Linked DNA regions of Homo sapiens: region 2 is linked to region 1. The links are contacts of gene promoters, found by promoter capture Hi-C in human tissues and cell types (Jung and others, 2019). All regions are on one chromosome and are shown on one strand. Each heading gives the region's core, a stretch centred on a gene start or on the middle of the fragment in contact. The rest is flanking DNA. Distances are from core to core; before and after follow the strand shown.

Evidence for each region. The method cuts DNA at HindIII sites, captures the fragments that hold promoters and counts their contacts. A contact is called where the count stands out against the background at its distance.
Region 2: a contact is called between a fragment that was not itself captured here and the fragment with the promoter of COL3A1 in region 1, in 2 of the 25 tissues and cell types used here (bladder and mesenchymal stem cells).

Annotation. Positions count from the first base shown.
Region 1 is chr2:188,969,212-188,976,717 of GRCh38, reverse strand. COL3A1 (collagen type III alpha 1 chain) reads right to left here and starts at 2,345. Exons shown (of 51, transcript NM_000090.4): 1 at 2,150-2,345. The coding sequence starts at 2,228. LOC105373791 (a long non-coding RNA gene) reads left to right here. Exons shown (of 3, transcript XR_007087614.1): 2 at 6,239-6,371. The HindIII fragment of the contact is 6,513 bases long and covers 325-6,837 here.
Region 2 is chr2:188,878,043-188,885,025 of GRCh38, reverse strand. No RefSeq gene overlaps it. Among named protein-coding and RNA genes, the nearest start is that of DIRC1, 91 kb to the right of the region's middle. The HindIII fragment of the contact is 3,646 bases long and covers 1-3,319 here.

The sequences.
Region 1 (7,506 bases), core at 1,096-3,595:
GGACTTGTTTGTATCCAGAAAATGCCTGTGAGTGAACTAGAAGTGAGTGTTCATTAGAGCTGTGCCGTCTCTGAAGTTATGAGGGCATATATAAGAAACCCCACCCCAGAACTTTATGACAGCTCTCAGTGTGCTGTATATTCAGATACCTCCTGTAACTTTTCCAAAGCTTATCTAATAGCAGAATTTCCTTGTAAAACCCACAGGGAACATAAGATGTACTGTCTTAAGTCACTTCAACTTTACTTTTACTCATGACAAAAAAAATAGGCTGAACAGTTCTCTTTCAACTCTTTTTGAGCTTAAGAACACACAAACACATATCAGCAAAATTTTATACTTATTGATTATTTTTTGCATCTAAAGAGAAAGAGGGAAATAAACAGAACTTAATGTGATGTCAAGGTACTGTAAGTGGCAAACACCCCCCCACTAAAGTTGGATTGGGAAGAAAAATAGCCACAGTGCTTATAAAAAGCTTGCAACCACGAGGCAACTACAAATATGTTGCAATTTTTTGAGCTAAAACCCCTAAGTTTGTAGTCTTTTCAATAAATGGTTGGTGGGGGATAGTAGTCATTTGGTATCCTAAAAAAGGACTGTGAGTTGTAGCATCTCCTGGGAAGAGCAGGATAGGGAGGAAAAGGGGAGAGGAATGAGAAAGGAAGAAGGATTGAGAGTTCAGGGGAAAGAAAGGGTGAGGAGGCAAGGAGAGAGAGAACTAAAAAAAAGAAATGGAGGCATAAGGAGGCCACATGGGGAGTAGGGAGGGAGTAACAGGCAGGGAAGACAGAGGAGGAGAGAGGAGTAGATATGGGCTTGCCTAGGAAGGGGTGGGGTGATGAGTGAAGAGAAGTCTAAAGGAGCCAAAAGGGGTGGAGAGAGATAAGGAGGAGGGCAAAGCGAAGGAGAGGAGGGGTAAGGAGGAGAGGAAATTAAGGGAACAAGGAAAATGGGTGTTTCTTTTCTTTTGTGTCCATGGGCTGAATATAACTGAAGACATTTCATTGTATATCTACCCCTCCCCTCATACACACATTTACATGTATTAGCTATGAGGACAACAAATACATTTGATATTACAAACAAAAACCAAATTTTCATGCAGTGTCCTTTGCAAAATCTATATGTTTAAATGTAACCATGTTTAGTTATGTGCAATAAAAATTGTCTAATAATTTCTCCTAGCTATCTTTACATTTAGCACTTAAATATTTATTTCTATGGAAGTTTGTATTCCAATTTGTTCAGCATTTTCATGACTATGGTAAATAAAAGAATATTTTCACATAAATAATGAGACAAATGTGTTTTTAGGGGAAATTAGAATATGAAAAACATTACATGCAATTATTAGAAAATATAGCAAAACAGCTTTCTGAAGTCAAACAGTACTAGTATCTTTACCTTGTTTGCAGCAAAGTCAAACCTCCTGTTGAAACATTTTAAAAAATATTTTCTTCATTAATGCGAATGTGGTTAAAACGTAGAATATGTGGAAAATATTAGTCCCTTAATATCAAGCTACTAGAAAAGATGAATTAATCAATCATTCTTGAAACAAAATAAAAACAGGAATAATAAAATATTTTAGCAGTTTGATCCCTTTGAAGAATGTTTATAGGTATCTTGTAGCCATTTTACAGAAATATATTCAATGATTCTGATAATGCGTAGAATCTTCCTTTAGACTGTTCTTAATCCATGATATTTGAAAGGCATTCTTATTCAGAAAACAATGCTCAATATTCTAACCTTACAAAGAATCCAGCAGACAAAGAGGAACATAAAATTATTGCAAGAGACCAATAACTTCCAGACTGCCTGGGGAAGTATTCCAAGATGTTAACAATCCAGGAGGGAAAAATTTTAAAGCCATTTTTAAAAGTTTCCAGTGCCTTTAACATGAAAACAAGTTAGTACAAGAACATCTTATCTTAACCACAGAACTCTTAAAAACACACATAACGCGATTATTTTTCAAGTAATGTAAAAAGCACAGCCATGGTCAGTTCAACGTTTCACAATCTGGAGCTTATAGAGGAAATTATCTTGAATCAGGCAACTGATTTTCCCCTTTACACCCCTCTTTGTGAGGAGAAGAAAGACAAAAATCCCATAAAGTTTCTTGAAATCAGTACCTACTCACCTTCCTGTTGTGCCAAAATAATAGTGGGATGAAGCAGAGCGAGAAGTAGCCAGCTCCCCTTTTGCACAAAGCTCATCATGTCTAAATATCAGACATGAGACTCTTTGTGCAAAAAGGAGAAAAGAAAAGCAGTTCAAAGTAGCACCATCAAGTTGTTCCCTGCCCTTCAGCACCGGGCCCGTCATAAAACTCAGCCACTGAGATTCCTTTGCTTTGGCCTTAAATAGGAAAAAGTTTGGCTTCCCTCACTTTCCAGCCCCTTTCTGAAATATGAGAGCCGCACCCATCCCCTCAGCAGTAAAAGAAATGATAAATATTTCTTTTTCCCTTATAGAAGACACAACCCACAGTAAGAAAAAGAGCACATCTGGAGTTTGTATGCATCTGCTTATGTAAAAGTTTTTTTACATATTTCACTCTTACATATATGTTTGTATAACTTAGGAACGTATAGAAATGCTCTGCCTTGTTTTAATACATACAATGTAAATGCATACATTTTTATTTCCCCTTATGAAGTTAACAACTGCATAATTTTGAAAAACTGCTTGATGCCCATTTATCTAGTATGTCTAATTTACAGAACTGATCTTCCTAGAAGATTTTTATGTTGGGATTTTGCCAGAAGTAATCCTAACTCAATTTAAATAGGAGACTGTAAGAGACTCACGGAAAGAAATGCCACCGTATGCCCCTTCGACTCATCCACCCACCCTGGGTCCTAGAAGTTAAGTTTCAGGCAAATATCAAAAGACAAAGTATTTCAGCAATGTTTGAATGGCTTCCTAAAAGTTAGATACTTATCTATAGCTGTTTCCATTTCTCACAAATTTCTTTAGCAAGCCAGAGTGCTTTCTTGTGAGATTTCCAATTTTTATGCTGCCTGGGAAAGACAGAGCAGATTTTTCTAGAGAAAAATTCAGCCTTTTCATGACATAACTTTTTAGGAAACTGGAAGAGAAAGAGTTTATCACATAGAATAGCAAAAGAGTACCAGAGAAAGTGGTCATTTTTTCTGCATTACTCTAAAGATTAGTATAAATATTTCTAATTTAGACTTTTATGTGTATACTTTCCAGATCCTCATCCACAAAACTTTCCAATGTATTTCTGGATCTATCTAAGCAGTAATTTTTGTGTCATATTTGAAAGAGGGGCAAATACCATTTATAGGTCTTTGATAAATCTCTGCAGGAAAAATATGCTTGTCCACAGTATAAGGCTATATCTGGCAATGGAGATATCTCTTTACACCCTAATCATCAGTTCATAGTTAGTTCATCTATCTCTATAATCTACGGTGGACATTTCAATTCTAATCAAGGTCACTTGAACTAATTTTCTTCACCTTCACCTAAACATGTCCGTCTCTATGCCTGTGCACATAAAATTCTCCCCATTTCACACCAATTAATGGAAGTCACTTCCTTATGCCTCAATGCAAAACTTTCCTCCTTAAGTAAATTACCTCCTTTAAACTAATTTTCATCTTTCTCTTTCTTCTAATTTGTGTTACTAAATTTTCACTCAACTCATGTCATATGTATATTCCCAGGTGTACATGAATCCTGTAAGCATGGACAGTGGCAAACTTGCTTTCTTGTTTCTTGCATCTTTTTTTTTTTTTTTTTTGCGACGGGGTCGCCCTCTCTCGCCCAGGCTAGACTGCAGTGGCGCAATCTCGGCTCACGGCAAGCTCCGCCTCCCGGGTTCACGCCATTCTCCTGCCTCAGCCTCCCGAGTAGCTGGGACTACAGGCGCCCGCCACTACGCCTGGTTAATTTTTTGTATTTTTAGTAGAGACGGGGTTTCACCGTGTTAGTCAGGATGGTCTTGATGTCCTGACCTCGTGATCCGCCCGCCTCGGCCTCCCAAGCTTTCTTATATCTTCAGTCACAAGGACACAAACCAAGACATCTCAATGTAGATGACATCATTTGATGACAGGAAAGGAAAACTAGAACGAGACCAACCTCTTGTGTATCTTTATTTTAGATTGGAGAGTCACTGCTTGGGGGCGTGGGAGAAAAGTAACTGTTGAGAATGGTCATGAATATAAGCTTTTCTACTGGATCACAGTAGAGATGCTGGGGAAAGGCTGTTATATGCATCTTTCTGTCTTTCAGACATCTTTGTCCTGTACACAAAAAATATTTCCTGTGTTCAAACCAATTCAGAAACATAGTTTTTCTCATGATGTCTTTGTATCTACGTAGAATTCATATATCTATATTAGATTTCTCTCATTGTTTTAGGTGGTCTATAAAAGCTGAAATTTATTGAATTTCTTCATTAGATTTATTTTCCACTGTGAAAAATTAGAAATGTTATTTTTAAAATAATGCTTGTTATGCTTTATTTTAGGCATTATAAATAAAATTACTATTGTTCTAAAATTCTTAATTTGCTTAGCTATTCAAATAAAAGCCTTATACTCATGAGAAAAATTCATGATTGATGCACTCACTTAAGAAACATTAGCTGATGTTTTGCATATGGAAGGATTGTTGTATTTTAAGGTCTTCAGGAGAGACCTAGAGAATTCATTCTCCAGATATTCTGATTTACGATTCTTCACTACCTCGAATATGGAGGTTTTGCACTAGGATCCTTTGCATTCTGTGTCCCAGATCCTATTTTTCTACCTCCTGTCAAAGCATTTCCTAATACGGGGTCAAAGCATTTCTTAATACAGGGTCTGAACTAGGTGAAATGCATACACTTCTGAATCCTATTATGCCATCCAGGAACTGCTGTCCTCATTGTTATCTAGCCACACATTTCTTCCCATACTTCCCTGACTTCACTGATGTTAACCAGGACACATAAACATGTCATTTTGCTTTTTGGATTGCATTTGGAGCTTTAACACAAATCTAAATACCTGCACCAACTAAAGCACTGATTAATCTGGATCTCCTTTAACAAAGAGAGTGCCTGGAAAGATGAGGCAAAGCAAGGGTGTGGCAGATTATCAACCAAAAATTCAAATCTTTTCCAATTCAGTGGAAAGTGGAGCTTGAGAGAGATGCACAAGCACAGCTGTGATGAACTCAGTAGGCCAGTGAATGCCAGCAGCGCTTTCTACAACAGCACTAAGAAAATCAATTATCTCCACCATGGAAAACACATGGAACAGAAATGTTTCAATGTTTCTCTCTTTCCTCTCCCCTCCCCTTTGTTGTGCGGCTTTATGTGTGATTTTCTTTTTGAAGCCAGCAAGATGCTTTATTTTTAGGGACATTTTCTAGATTTCAAATCACTGTAAAGCCATTTAAAAACTACTTGTGATAATAGAACTACCAATACAACTGTAAAATACAATGCAGGTCTTCTTTATTATTCCCAGAGAGGTTGATCAGTTCACTCAGTTGATAAAGGTAAAACCACATTTGAAGAGTTGTGTTTCCTTTAAAAGAATTTGAACAAATACTAGTATGTGCATAGTAGAGCCAAAAATATGGTTGAAAAAGTCATGTTGTACTTGCAGGACTTAAACATATTTAACCATAGATATGTCCAGGATTGAGGCAAATTACACTGGCAGTGGGACATGATAGTCCAGTTTTTGAGTGATTATATGACCAAGTCTTCAAGACCCTTTTCTTTAATTTCCCCTTAGTCCCCAAGGTAGAGTTCATTGACCCCTTGTTTTTTTCTTATAGAACCATTTTAATAACCATTTCTTTTTAGCCTGGAAATTTCACTTTTGTACAAGATTTATATTTTCTTGACATTTAGTAAAATAAAGTTTTAGTAAAATTTAGTTAGGAAACACGAAGTATCTCAATTCCTATCTATTCTTTGTTATTAAACTTAAGGCTCTAAATTTTTATCTTTGTATTTTGCAACTGAAAAGTATCCCAAGAATGAACAGAAAGTTTAAAGAGGTTACATGACTCTCAAAATTACTCATTGGAATTGTAAATAACTAAAAATTTTCACTTTTGTACAAAATCCATATTTTCTTGACATTTAGTAAAGTAAAGTTCCAGTAAAATTTAGTTAGAAAAAACTGAGTATCTTGATTCCTACCTATTCTTTGCTATTAAAGCTAAGGCTCTGAATTTTTGTCTTTGTGTTTTGCAGCTGGGAAGTATCCCAAGATTGAACAGAAAGTTCAAAGAGGTTCCATGACCCTCAAAATAATTCATTGCAACTGGAACTGACTAGCACACTTTACAAATATTTTCACCATGCTTTCCACTAATCACTGATTGTGGTAAAGATATTTTTACGCAATTTAGAAGTGTGGTAAATACAAATCTGACACTTAATTTTGTATGTTTTCTAATGAGGCATTGTGAAAGGATGAAAAAAATGATAATGTTATGGAGTTAATGGCCAATTTACAAAAATTACCATTCTGATTTTTGTCTTGTCATTAATCTTTGAGTAATTTTCAGTATTGTATTTAAGTAAAAGTCCACTACTTTACACTTAATGAAGTACAATCTTAGGGCATGCAAAAGAGTTCACATATGTGTTTTTGTGTGTTTGCGTGTGTATATGTTTATATACCCCCCACATATATATGTATAATTAAATACGTATGTATATACTTTTAAAAGCTGACAAAAATTCAAGCAAGTAAAAATTTCTAGGAAACTTCCTTAATATACATGTAAGATAACTTGTATTTGTTATATCAATGTTGCTTCACATAAGTAGATAAGTAGCTATGAGTTTTTGCTTATGTAGACATAAACATGTCACCTGAAATCTTATTTAACATAACAGACTATTAATCATTGAAAGGGAAACTACTGGTAAGCCTCTACTTGAATTGTGAAACTTTCTGAAGTATTGTAAGCATGTTCTCTTGAACGAAGTTCTGATATACTTATATTTTAATTATAGCTTTATTTACTATCATAATTATTATTGTAATTATATTTGAAAATTCATAGGAAATTGAAATTCATCTCCTTACCTAATCTCATTCCTGAATAGTGTGATTACTTTATAAATTTACCACAGGGGTGACACAGAAACTGGGATGCCACATCGTGAAGCAGCTCAGGCGTTCCCTGTTGAGTCTTCAGTTAACTTAATCATTCTCAGGGTTGAAGCTCCACTCTGCAAATCCCACTAGACTCTCTATCAAATATAATTTGTCATCTGAGTCATCCTTAGGAATTTTCAGCAATATCCAACACAGCTGTAACAGCTCTTCAGATGTAGCCAATTCTGTGTAAAGATAAAAGGAAGGCCCAAATCACGATCTTCTGATAGATACATGAAATAGGTCAAAGCCAAACAGGGAATCTACATGCTTCAAATGGAGACTGATTTTTAATTCCTATCAATATCTTTTCTATTCAGATACACAATGGGGGCTCAGATTTAGGATCTTT
Region 2 (6,983 bases), core at 247-2,746, 91 kb after region 1:
CACAAATCATGTCAAAGAGGGCATTTTCTTAGCGATTTACTCCCTTACAGATTGATTTTTCTTTATTAGTTAGCAAGATGGCATTAAATTGATTTTTAATGTTTTTTATGTTTAGATAACTAATACATTTTGTAAGATTTTAAATAATATAATCTATGTGAAACAAAATCTTATCTTTTAGAGGTATACAGTCAATATTCTATAAAAAAAAGTCAGTGGGAAAACTTTCGCAATATATCCCTCAAATTTTCCATTACATTTTCTCCAGACAAGCTTCAATGTCGTAATAATGTGACTCCTTTTGAATAAACATGTAGGTTCTATGTGGGCCTCTGCCACTCTCTGTTACATTCTATCATATAAAAATAACATATAGTTTAAAAATGTTAGGATAAAATACATATTAAAAACCGTGACCAAGAACTTTGTAAAATGGGATTTTGGTTTACTTGACATTAAATTGCAGATTATTAATGCTGCAAAGATAATTTTTAGGTGGATTCTTTGTGTGTATATTTGTTTGGGTGATGGGAGTGGAGGAGAATGGTAAAATAATCAGACTGACATCTTAGCTTTCTCCATTTTATGAAGCAGTGTATTCCAAGTGTTTATAGCTGGATCTAACAAAAAGCTTTCTTTTTTCACTTGATTTGAGCATTTGTTTGTTTATCTTTTCTCAGGCTGCTTCTACAAACACAAAGTTGCAATGCCCTAACATATTACAGAACTAGCCTGTGTTTACTTTCCCCCCATTTGACCACCCACAAGTTGAGTCAGAGTTGTACTTTACATTTTCCTAAACCAAAACCACATGGAGGAAATACACTTCCTTGGGTCTCTTTAAAATCATGAAATTAAGCCTTTCTTGGATTCTATCTCCAACAAGTAACAGATAATCTTGCGCTTGTGAATACCTCTAAGTTATTAAGCTGGGAGTGTTGCTGCAGCTGATCAAGAAAACTGGAGCCCCAGAAACAGTCACAGAACTTAGAGCTGAAAAGAGTAACAGAAATCAATTAAATTTAAGTGCTTCTTATAGGTGGGGAAACTGGCTTAGAGAGGCTGAACTCTTGCCCATGGTTATTATAAAAACCAAGATGAGACTTGGTGACTGGGTTTCTAGCCAGAATCTACTCTAATTAACCACTGTATTCCAACTGAACCGATTGCTAAAACATTTAACTAAGCAAGGGATCCATTTGCTGATTTGTGCAATTGCATCTTTTCTCGTTTCATATCATCTGCTGAATGTGCTAAGTAATGTTAGAATTAAATTTAATTATTTAACATTAGCATAAATTTAAAAATATTTTTGACCCTTTATATCTTTCTCTAACCCTTTTTCCCTCCCTGAGGAAATGGTATTCTCGCAAGCCTTTTGTGTCTTGAGCCCATTTATTTCTTCATCCTCTGATCTAAAATGGCTACTGGGATGTTGCCTTGTCCTGGCAATAAAGCAACTTCACACTGACCTGTTTTGTTAGATGCAATATTGTTCTTCTAGGCTTCACAAAACCTTCTTAGTCCTTAACAATACGTGAATGAATCCTCTGGACACAAATATATATTTCAGTTATTTCTACATAATGTCTCTGAATAATAATTGTGAGTTTTTATTATATATTCAATATTATTATGGAAAATCCTTAACAGGTAATGGCGTTGAGAATTTTCAGGCTTTATGAAATTTAAAGCTGTAACACTTTAAAGTTTGGTTTTCCTAAAAGAATCCAAAGTCTGGCTCAGATTTTAGCATCCTATCTAGAGCACTCCAAATTATGTATGTAAATCTTTGTTCTTCCAAGAGGAAAATAATTGTTCTTCTTTATTATTTTAATCTTTAGCATGCAATGAAATAATTGATTTGAGATCACATAGGGAATTTCTCAAGGGTCTCAGAAGTTAGAGAGAAAATTACAGTCATATTAGCTCGACTACATCACTCATTCAAAGGATCTCAGCATATCAAGCCAAGGTATGACTTTTTTCTTTTGAGTAGTAACATTGAGAGCCATTTTAAAACCCTATGTTTCACTAAGAAACAATGCAAATTGAGTGAATTCTCTTCTACCCCCTGCCTTTTCAAAAATCTTCCTCAATTACTACACTCTTTTCATCCAGCAAGTTACACTGCCTGTGGGAAGTAATGCTAACTTATCATTTTCTTTTTCTTCTCTCATATAATATCTTGATAAAGGGATTCTGTCCTAAAGATATCACCTAATGGGCTTTCATGTAATCGACTGGTGTACTTTTACTTACTATTTCTTAGCAGACTAAGACACACTAAATTATTCTACCTTGCACTACTACTGCTTATTTAGATCACACCAAATCCTATTTTAACTGATACATGTTGGGTTTAAATTATAGTTAATAGATAGTCATCTTGACAAGCCAGATGTGGTATTATGATGTATGGTCATAATACTTGTCTTATGAGCCTCCTCTACTGTGTCCAAATTCAACCTCCAGCTCTTTCCTTCATGTCCTTCTTTATCCAGCCTTATCCAGGACTTATCCAGTCCATGAAACACAGTTTTCTGCCAACATTTTCAAACTCCCTTGCCCTACTCTCTCTTGGTGTTAAAAGTCTATCTGGCAAAACTCAATCTAATTGTATTCAGATATCTACTTTCTCTGCTTCTGTTTCCAAATGGCTAAGCACTGCTGGAATATTCACATGACAGAACAACCTGGGTCTATGACAAATTCATAATCCCAACCTTGAAAGGACATTCAACATTACTAGACAATTCAACTACAGCATCTCTGTACTACTTTCCTACTCTCAGCATTTCCTTCTCTAACCCTCTCTACCTACATCAAACCCTAACCCCCACCCCCATTCACTCTCACTATGAGTTGATTATCTGACTTCTAGTTCAGAGAGATAGTAATAATAGCAATGATAAATATATACATAATGCTTACCATATGCCTGGCACTAGTTTTTAAAATTTACATATATCAACTACCCTAGGAAAATGGCGCTATTTCTATCACCTGTTTATAGAGGCACAGATAATTTAAATACTTTGCCCACAGTCACACAGCTAGCAAGCGACAGTCAGGTTTTCACTCAGGATTCTAATTTGAGTCTATGCCTTTGACCACTATACATATTGCCTTCTCCTGAAACCACATGTCCAAGCTGCCTACGTCTCATAATGAGGCTCCCCCTCTTACCTGGGGCCAATCCTTCCCATCACCTGTGACTAGAGTTTTATGTTTTTATTCTCAGCAGCCCCACATGATTTATTAAACTTCTTCTTTTGTGTGTAGATTTACCCTCTTCTCATTCAGTCAACCATCTCCTTCTCTCTGCCCATCCACACATACATTTTTTGGAAAAGATGACTGTTCTCCCTTTTTACATGTCATCACTTTTTACTATCTACTCAGCACATTCTTCAGTCTTGACCCTCTACCCATCCAGCTTTTACCTAGCTTACAACTGACCTCCATGACACCAATTCCAACACAAATTTTTCACCCCTCATTTCACTTGTGCTCCCACCAGTGTTCCATTCTGTTGACTACTGCCTCGTCTCTGAAACCCTGTCTTCCCTTGGCTTTTGTGAAACAATTGTATATCTATCTATCTATCTATCTATCTATCTATCTATCTATCTATCTATTTATCAATCATCCATCTAATCTATCTCCTGTTAGTTCTGCTTCTCTGGAGAACACTTACTAATGCATCTATCTCTACCTCAGATCTCTGTTTGGAACAACAGACCCACACATTACATGGGATATAAGCTCCATGAAGTCAGTGACTGCTTGCTTTGTCTCTTTTCTATCCTGGTGTCTAGAAGTGTCTAGTAACAGTGGGTGAACAATGAATATTTTTAATTAAAGAAAAAATGATCTGCCTAACCTTGATCCTCTTTTAGTATTTCCTGTTAGAGCAAGGCATCACTATTGATCCAGTTAAACTAAACAGCCTGACAAAAATTGTTGATATTTCTATTTCCCTCATCCCTCAGAGTTAACAGTTGTATTAGTTGGCTAGGACTCCTATAACAAAATACCACAGAATGGGCAGCTTAAACATCAGGAATTTGTTTTGTCACAGTTATGGAGGCTAGAAGTCAAGTCTCAATGTGTCTCAGTTTGGTTTTTCCTGAGCCCTCTCTCCTTGGTTTGCAGATGGTCAGCATCTCACTGTGTCCTCACAAGATCTTTCCTGTCTATACACACAGTTCTGGTGTCTCTTTGTGTGTCTGAATTTCCTCTTTTTATAAGGACATCAATCAGAGTAGATTAGATCCCACCCTAACAGCTGTAAATAATTTAATCATCCTTTTAAAAGTCTTATCACCAAATACAGTCACATTCTGAGGTACTGGGGGTTAAGACTTTAACATGAATTTTGGGGGAGATACAATTTATCCCACAATCATCTATCAACAAATTCATTTGATTTTTTTCTAAATATATATGTCTTGAATCCACATATTTTTCTGTATCTCTTCATAATCCAGGGTATCATTATCTTTTAAGATCTTCAAAGAGTCTCTGACTTCTAGTATTCAAATACTTGTATAATCTCCTACTTTCTAGTGCCAGCTGGACCTAAATACTAATAAAGAGAATATGGTCAAAGTGATGGAATGGCGTTTTTGAGATTAGGGTCGCTGCCATGCTCTCATTCCCTTGCTCTCTCCTTGCTTATTCTGATGAAACTCGGCTGTCACATTGTGAGCCTTTGGAGAGGCCCAAGTGGCAAGGAGCTGAGGGAGACCTCTGGCCATGGCCCACAAGGAAACTGAGGCTTTCATCCAAGAACCCACGAGGAACTGAATGCTGCCAACTACCACTTGAGTGAGCAAGGAAGTAGATACTCCTGCAGTCAAGCCTTGAGATAACAGCAGCTCTGGACGACACCTTGATTGTAAACTTGTGAGAGAGTTACAGCCAGAGAACCCAATTAAGCCCTGCCCAGAGTCATGACCCACAAAATCTGTGACATAATAAGTGTTTATTGTTTTAAGCCATTAAGTTTTGGGGTCATTTGGTATGCAGACATAAATAACTAATACACGTACTTACTACAGAAGTATACTAGCTTGTCTACCTACATTTATTCTGGCCTCCATCAAATCACTTCTTCATATGGCAGTCAGAGTGATCTTTTCATAACACAAATCAGTCTATTTTCCACCTAAACTCTTCAGTAGCTTCCCATTTATTGAAGACCAGCTGTCTAACATGACAAACAAAGTCCTGCATAGCCTGGCTTCTCTCCACGTCCCAGGCCTCATCTCACACTCAGCTCTGCTCTCTGTCCAGCCATAATGAAATTCTTTGGTCCCTTCGTACTCACTATGCTGCACCCCACTATAGGCCTTTTGTAAATGCTGTTTGCTCTGCTTAACATGTTCACCTCTCGTTTCTTCACCTTTTAACACCTATTCTTCCTTTCAGATTTCAAAACCTCATTTTCTCAAGGAGTCCACTCCCGTCCAGGTCAAATCTCCATAGCATTTGCCAGAGAATATTTTTACATATGATTCTGTAGAGGCTTTCCCTTCCACTCAAGAGCAAGCTGCCTGAGAGCAAGGATAATGTCTAGCTGTTTTGTGTTTTTTAAAATATGGTATGTACCATGCCTGGCCCAGTGTCTAGCACAGAGTAAGTACACAGTAAATATTCATTAAACAAATAAATACATAAAATATCAGCAAAATACCATGCATTATTCCTTTTGTCTTTTTCTGAGTGTTCCAATCAACAATTTTGCCTCTTAAAAACTATGCAAGCTCAAGTATGCGATGCTACTATTTCCTATAACTGGACTTTTCTGCCAAGTATTTATGAGACTATGTTTTTACAAGGACTATTAGAGAAATACTGGAAAACAACATTTCTTAATATATGATGGCATTTAACCCTTCTGGATTCATGGTAAAACCATGACAGACTGAAAGGATAAGACTTGGCATCTGATATGGAATTTGTCAGACTCAAAACTTTTGTCCAAAAAATTAATGGTAAGCTTTGTTTATTTGAAAATATCATCTCTTATTTTTAGCAAATCTGAATTACACAGCTGGGTGACAGATGTATATATGTCATAACCTTATAGAGGAGAAAGAGCATGTTGGCTCTGTGATCACATTTTTTTGAATGGAAAGATTTCCATCTTTTAGATCATGTCATGTATTCCATCTGGATGTTGTGGCAAAAACACTGCCTATGTGTCACATTTTTTGGTGTATAAATCATGTCATGTCCTTGATACATTTGCCTCACCATTTACATGAATGTTAATTTGGGCACAGTTATTTATCCAACAGACTGAAAATCATAGATATATCTCTCTTCACGACTAAAGAGAGATTCTCACCACATCCATTAACGTAACAGTAAATAAGTGAAAACATCATTTAAATTTGTTTAGTTTTTCAACTCTGGGTTCTTCTCCCACATTTGTTTTAATATTTAGGTGTTTTCACATGCATATAAATGACGCTATGCATGTAACTTAAATAAGCTAATTAGACTGGGTATTAAATCACTGGTATACTCTAGTGATTTAATGGCATACTATTCAGTATTTGGATACAATAATAGACATTCATACACATTAATAGTAATGTAATAGGGAATGGTGAAGATTCATGCAAATGGGATAGTATATGCCTATTTTGCCAGAGGCAGCTGCAACTTACTGTTAACTCACTGATTGTCAGTTCAGTGTTGCTAGGTATTGCAACTTTTTCTAGAGAAGTTGGAAATCTGGATTTTATGTAAAATATCCCAATGATAAAATAATCTTTTATAACTTTGCAAAACAGTTCAAATAAGTCTTTGGGGTTTGTGTGAGATAATGGCCCTTTTTGATACAGCAACAATATTGTATATTGGAAAACACATAGGTTTTGGAAAGAGACAGACCAGGGTTTGAATTCTGGTTCAGATAGCTTCTTGTATGGCTGGACAATTTCTTCTGAAACTTTGTGTCTTAAGTA